Regions from separate parts of the Homo sapiens genome. Here region 1 is linked to region 2. The links are contacts of gene promoters, found by promoter capture Hi-C in blood cells and fetal thymus (Javierre and others, 2016). All regions are on one chromosome and are shown on one strand. The core of a region is centred on a gene start or on the middle of the fragment in contact, and the rest is flanking DNA. Distances in the headings are between cores, read along the strand shown. Region 1 overlaps ZNF143 (zinc finger protein 143). Region 2 holds the start of C11orf16 (chromosome 11 open reading frame 16).

The links. Contacts are between HindIII fragments. The CHiCAGO score rates a contact against its expected background, and 5 or more counts as called.
Region 1: a fragment that was not itself captured here is called in contact with the fragment with the promoter of C11orf16 in region 2 in 1 of 17 cell types (fetal thymus); the score reaches 5.3 in fetal thymus.

Annotation. Positions count from the first base shown.
Region 1 is chr11:9,527,177-9,530,178 of GRCh38, reverse strand. It overlaps ZNF143 (zinc finger protein 143), which reads right to left. Exons shown (of 16, transcript NM_003442.6): 16 at 1,655-2,649. The coding sequence ends at 2,566. Among named protein-coding and RNA genes, the nearest start is that of WEE1, 45 kb to the left of the region's middle. RefSeq lists an enhancer at 1-523. The HindIII fragment of the contact is 622 bases long and covers 1,091-1,712 here.
Region 2 is chr11:8,931,457-8,934,716 of GRCh38, reverse strand. It overlaps C11orf16 (chromosome 11 open reading frame 16), which reads left to right and starts at 1,770. Exons shown (of 7, transcript NM_020643.3): 1 at 1,770-1,816; 2 at 2,391-2,575. The coding sequence starts at 2,409. RefSeq lists an enhancer at 1,313-2,151. The HindIII fragment of the contact is 4,544 bases long and covers 1-3,260 here.

The DNA.
Region 1 (3,002 bases), core at 152-2,651, 600 kb before region 2:
CAAGAGACACTGTACAAAGTTAGTTTGCCCTGAAGGCCTGGGGGTGGGTAGGAGGGGAAGGAGAGATCTGGCTCTCTGGGCAGCTGTCACCTCTAGAGAATTAAGAAAGCCTCGTCCCTCCCTTAACTCTAAGTTCTTTTGAGTTCAGACTAGGGCACATTTTCTTTGTAGTGGCCTCAAGCTTTGTCTGGGGCAAAGCAGGGTGGTTTTTTTGGACGGAGAGGTTTTCCTTGAGCACTGTCTGGATCAAATTCCAGAGGGTTATGCCCCACCTGGTTCTGTTTGCTAGCGTTTACTCTTATTTCAAGTGTCTTTTTGGGATTTTTCAACCTTGGACGTTTCCATGTCCTGCACTGTGAAGAGACCCTATAGCAGCTTTCCTAGCAATTGTCAGCACACCAACTGCACCCTTCCCCTGGAGGAAACAGGCCACCTTGCCAGGCTCCTGAGGCCCCATTCCCAAGAAGGCAGGTCAGGTTAAACTAGCAGCGACCCTAGGCCCTTTTCTCTGGGTGCCAGAGGTCATTTTCTTTTGAGCTGAGGGATAATCAGGCTAACCAAAACAGTCCAGGTTAAGCCCTGCCCAATCCAACTGGCAAAGGTGCTGGGAGTAAAGAGAAACACCCTGGAATTTGAGCAAAGTCAGATCTAAGGGGCCATGGGAGGCTGACAGCTTGGTTTTTGGTCCTGGGAAGTACAGCAGCCTGGCTGGGCCCAGTGGGGAGGAGCTCCTGGCCAGCAGCCAGGACCAGCACTGGGAGGCTGGGCGCCACCCTGCCTGCGATTTTGCAGATTCTGGTCTTCTACCCCGCCCAACAGCCCCTTTCTGAGCCTCAGTGGGCTTCCGGGGGGAGTTCTGTGTGGGTCTGTGTCTCTGTCAAGAATGAAGACTCGATCGGTGGTTGACTAGGGCTTTTGCTAATGTTATGCATCTGTAAAGGGTTCTGCAGGAAAAGTTCTGCCCAACCCTGAAGGGCTTCCGATTTCAAGTAAGTCACCATCCTTTTTAGCAAGATCATAGAACCTGATCAAAGATAACATTTATGTAAAATCAAACAGCACAACGTTTTCCCCTTTCTACTGTAAAGCTTGAAATGAAAAAGCCACATTTCAGCTCTCTGCAAATAAAGCTCGCTGAACTACAGTGCAGGAGGGGCTGCTGCGGAACACACCATCTTTTTTTTTTTTTTTTTGACCTTGGTGAACGCTGATTTTCCAGCATTAGAAAATGGTTTTTATACTGCTCAATTCATTAGGCAATCAGAAATCACCAAAGTTCATCTTGATAATCTCTGCCACAAATGAGCATTTGAGGAGGTAACTGTGGTGCAGTGAAAACACACTAGACTTGGAGCCAGAAAGTCTGGGTTCTCGTCTTGGTCCTGCCTCTCCATAGCTGTGAGGGCTGGTACGACAGTCAGCCTCCCTCCTGGACTCTTGGTTTCCTCATGTAAAAAACGGAGGTAGTAAATCCCATATGTCTCACAAAATTGTTGTGAATATATAAAAATATATGGAAAAGCACTTACTCTGTACTTGATAAACAACATCCTTTCAATATGTGTATTAGGTTACATTCCATTACATTTGCGATATTTTCTGCACCATTTCCCCCCAACCCCCCACCAATATGATAAATAAATAAATATAAAAGTAACATTTTAAAAATTGCTGTATTCAAAATTAATAATAAACTTTGGGGTAAATAAGCTTTAAAACAAAAGTACATAAGCAAAAATAAATAATTTACACCAACCCACTAACCTAATTTTCAGAGTAAAGCCATTTCCAATTACAGTACTGTTATCCCGGGCACCAGCCTGTGGTTAAACTTTGATGATTCATTATTTTTAAAAAACAGTAATAAAAATTGAATACTAAGCAAAATCTTTAACAAAACCACTGGATTTAACTTTTTAATTTTAAATAACCAAATTTTATAATTTTGTACATAATTCAATGTAATGCCAATATAATTAGCATTTCAGCTTGAAGAGCTGGTTTTTAACAGGGATGGGAAACTATAAATTATTCAAACAGTCTGCAAACCATGAGATACAAATAAAAATGGACAAGCATATAGTAGAACAAAAACCGCAGACACTCTACTAACTGGGGAAATATCTGAAGGCTTTACACCCTTTATTATCCATAATGGCTTTTGGAATTACGATTGTGTGACATATAGAACCTTTGATATTTTAGATACAGCCTTTATTTTTTTTTCCACGGGAAGTTAAAAATCCATCATAAGACTCCATAAGACTTTACTAGTCTTGCATGTAGACTCTAGGAGTTTGTGATCTGATAAAAGAGTAACATGAAAATTTACTGTATTGCCCTAATTTCATACTTCCTTGTACACAATGAATCACTCTGAGAATCTATTCCAAGGGTTATATACACAAAAGTGTCAAGAATAAAATGTTCTCCACTCTCGCATAAAAATGTGTACAGTGTATCAGGAATGGAAAACTTCTAATTTTCCTGGGCCCGGGCTTCATGGATTTCTGCTGCCAGAAGATGAAAGACTCCTTCTGCTTTATTGCTCCATTGTTCTGAGGATTAATCATCCAACCCTGGCGTTTCTCCTTGTTGGATTCTAGACGCTATTCTGATGGCTTCTTCCAGAGATGGCTGTTCTCCAAGCTGAAACAGGAACACACACATCAAACGCTAACAATTCAAAAGCCACAGTCAAGAAAATGCCAAAGAAATGTTATATGCCAGAAGTGAAACTTCTCTCTGTAATTCTGACACTTGGGATTGTTAAAATACTACTGCTAACTCAAACATTAAGAGAACAAAACAATTTCCTGCAGGGGAGAATAATGCAATGCAATTTCTTTTTCTTTTTTGAATTTCAAATCCTATGTGCAGCCAGGCCTGGTGATATGATGAGGTCTCAGCGGGGCATGGTGGCCCATGCCTGTAATCCCAACACTTTGGGAGGTGGAGGCAGGCAGATTGCTTGAGCCCAGGAGTTCGAGACCAGCCTGAGC
Region 2 (3,260 bases), core at 521-3,020:
AATATTCTCCTTTTCCCCTCCTCCACTGAAATCCCACTGTCTCATTCAAGAATCATTCTTTCACTGCCAGAGACTTCACGGGTATTTTTTAATTTATTTTTTATTTTTTGAGACAGAGTCTTTCTTTGTCACCCAGGCTGGAGTGCAGTGGCGCGACCTCGGCTCACTGCAACCTCTGACTCCCTGGTTCAAGCGATTCTCCTGCCTCAGCCTCCCGAGTAGCTGGGATTACAGGCGTGTGCCACCATGCCCAGCTAATTTTTTGTATTTTTAGTAGAGACGGGGTTTCACTGTGTTAGCCAGGATGGTCTCGATCTCCTGACCTCGTGATCCACCTGCCTTGGCCTCCCAAGTGCTGGGATTACAGGCATGAGCCACCGCGCCCGGCCATGGGTCTTTCTTAGACTCTCTGTGTGCCAAATAACTCCGCCTTGGTATACGGTCCTGGGCAGCAGTCATTCTCCTGACTATGAAGTGATGCTTCGGGAGGGCAGTCATCAGTTAAGAGGCTTTTGGTTGCAAGTAAGAAACAGCCCAATCCAGAGTGGCATAATCAATAAGGGGAATTATTGGCTCACAGAGCTGAGGCCTAGAGTAGCAGCACTGCCTGCAGGCAGGACTCAGTACTGTCACCGAGAACCTATTTTCAGCTGGGCGTTGGGGTGCATGGCTGTAGTCCGAGCTCCTTGGAAGACTGAGGCAAAAGCATCCCTTGAGCCCAGGAGTTTGAGGCCAGCCTGGGCAACCCTGTCTCAAAACAAACAAACCAACCAACCCTCTATTTCCTGAGGTCTATCCTCTCTTTCTCTGGGAATAGCTTCAGTGTTCCCAAAAGGCTGTCAGAGGCTCTCAGAACTATCAGCTTTCTTATTCAGGCATAGGAAGAAAGAGAAAGCCTATATCCCAGGATTCCCAACCAAAGTCTCCAGATTCCTGCTGATTGGAGAGGTTCAGGAACACGCCACTGCCTGACCAACCCCTGGGGCCAGACGGGGATGGAAGGGGTGACTGACACCCACTCTACCCCTGGAGGTGGGTACTTTGGCCTCCCTATCCACATGGATCTGCCAACTGAAACAGGACCTGGTAGAAGCGGGGTATGAATGTGGGGGAGACACATCCAAACGTGCCTGCATACCAGGCATATAACCAGTGCACAGTGACTGGCAGAGGCCTCCAAATACGAGCCCCTCCCACAAGCAGAATCTGGACTTCTGTTCCTTTGTTGCCAGTGTCCACACCTCTCACTCCAAATGGTCACAACACCTCTGCTCCTCAACAGAGTCCTGCCTGTTATAGACAAACAGGCCCACACCTTTGGTTATTTTGGTTTAGACTAGGGACAAATTCTATCCTAGAGTCCCCAGGCCGCCAGTGGCTCCCCCATTCCTGCCTCTAGTGTGTACAGGGAGGACGCCCTCAGTTTCTGCGGAGGTGGCTCCTCCCTCACAGGAGTCTCCTGGGATCCGTGAGGGCTTCCCACCACCACTGACTCTTCCAGCAGTGGAGCAGCCTGAGCTTTGGAGAACTGAGGCTACACTGGCCTTTTTCCCTTCTTCCTCCTCCTCTTCTCTCCAAAGGGAAACCTGGAGAACACCCCCTCCCCCATCACTTCCTGCCCCACCCCTACCTCCCAAGGCCTCCTGTCCCCCTCTCCGCATGCTCGGTGCACTCACTGGCCACAGACGACAGCGTCCCCAGGCTGCACCCATGGTAACCGGCGTGGCAACCAGGAGTCGGTTGGGCTGAGACCCTGAGCCCCAACTGTCAGAAGGAGCCTGAGGCTGAGGTGGAGGCTGGGAGTTTGGGGCTGTGGGTAAGTCCTTGTGGGGTCAGACCTGTGGACTTGGGCAGGGGCAGACCCTCACGGGGCTCTGGTGGGCTGCAGCAGTGCGGCTTGATCTTGGGCCCTGGTGGCAGCTGTCTCCTCTGAACAGGGCTGGAAAGGGGATGGACGGCCCTGAGATCTCAGCTTGCCTGAGGCCAGAACTAGCCTTGTAGGTGGCCGGGGAGGAGGAAGGAGGAAAAATACTAACATAAGTTGAGCTGCTGAATACGCCAGGTGCTTTCCATGTATTCTATCCTGAGTGTAACTGGAGAGCAGAGGTTAAGTGAGCACACAGCCAGCAGGCTGTAGGGGAGGATTTAAAGCTGGGCTGCTCTAAACTCACAGCACTTGCTCTTCCAATCCCTTCCCTGTTTCCTGAGTGGAGGTTCCCAAGGCAGGTGACTCAAAGAGGAAACTGTGAGAGTTTGTGGGAGCAGGTAGGGCCGTGCATGGACTCAACTGTCCCCAGAGGCAGCTAACTGCAGAGCTGAGCCCTGCCTCGCCCCGGTGGCCACTGCTTGCTTCAAGCTGCAGCTCAGGTAATGGTGGTGCCTATTCTCAGGTGGATCCTCTGAAGGCCATGGAATCCTCCACGGGGCCCAGGATGCCTTTGCTCAAATACTGCAGCGTGGCCACAAGCCTGAAGGCCCCTGGCTGGGACGGTGCTGCTCCACCTTGGGACCTCTCCTTCACCTACCCCTTTGCCCTCCAAGCACCCTGGCTCACCGGGCACAAGCCCCTTGCAAGGTACCTGTCTCTGCCCCTCTGGGGGAAGTGGATGCCCTTTTCTTTTTCCTTTGTTCTTGGCTGTTGGTGGTAGACCTTGGTGGACAGACTTGCTTCCTGAGAAGGTGGAAAGGGGTCGTCATTGTTTGGCCTATGATTGGCATATCTGTGTGGGGTCTGTCACTCCAGCCTACATTGTGCTCCCAGAGCCCTCCAGGGTTGATCTGGCTTTAGCAGAGTTGCAGATGCTGCAGTTGGCATGAGTAAGAGAAGGCAGTTAGGGATAGCCAGTTACCAAGTTTATAGCTCATTTTACCATCAATGCTGAGACTTGGCTGGGCGCAGTGGCTCACACCTGTATACAATCCCAGCACTTTGGAAGGCCGAGGCAAGCAGATCACTTGAGGTCAGGAGTTCGAGTCCAGTCTGACCAACATGGCAAAACCCCATCTACTAAAAACACACAAAAAATTGGCTGGGCATGGTGGCTCATGCCTGTAATCCCAGCACTTTGGGAGGCCAAGGCAGGTGGTTCACCCAAGGTCAGGAGTTCGAGACCAGCGTGGCCAAGATGGTGAAACCCCGTCTCTACTAAAAATATAAAAATTAGCCAGGCATGGTGGCGGGTGACTGTAATCCCAGCTACTCAGGAGGATGAGGCAGAGAATTGCTTGAACTCGGAAGGTGGAAAGGTTGCAGTGAGCCG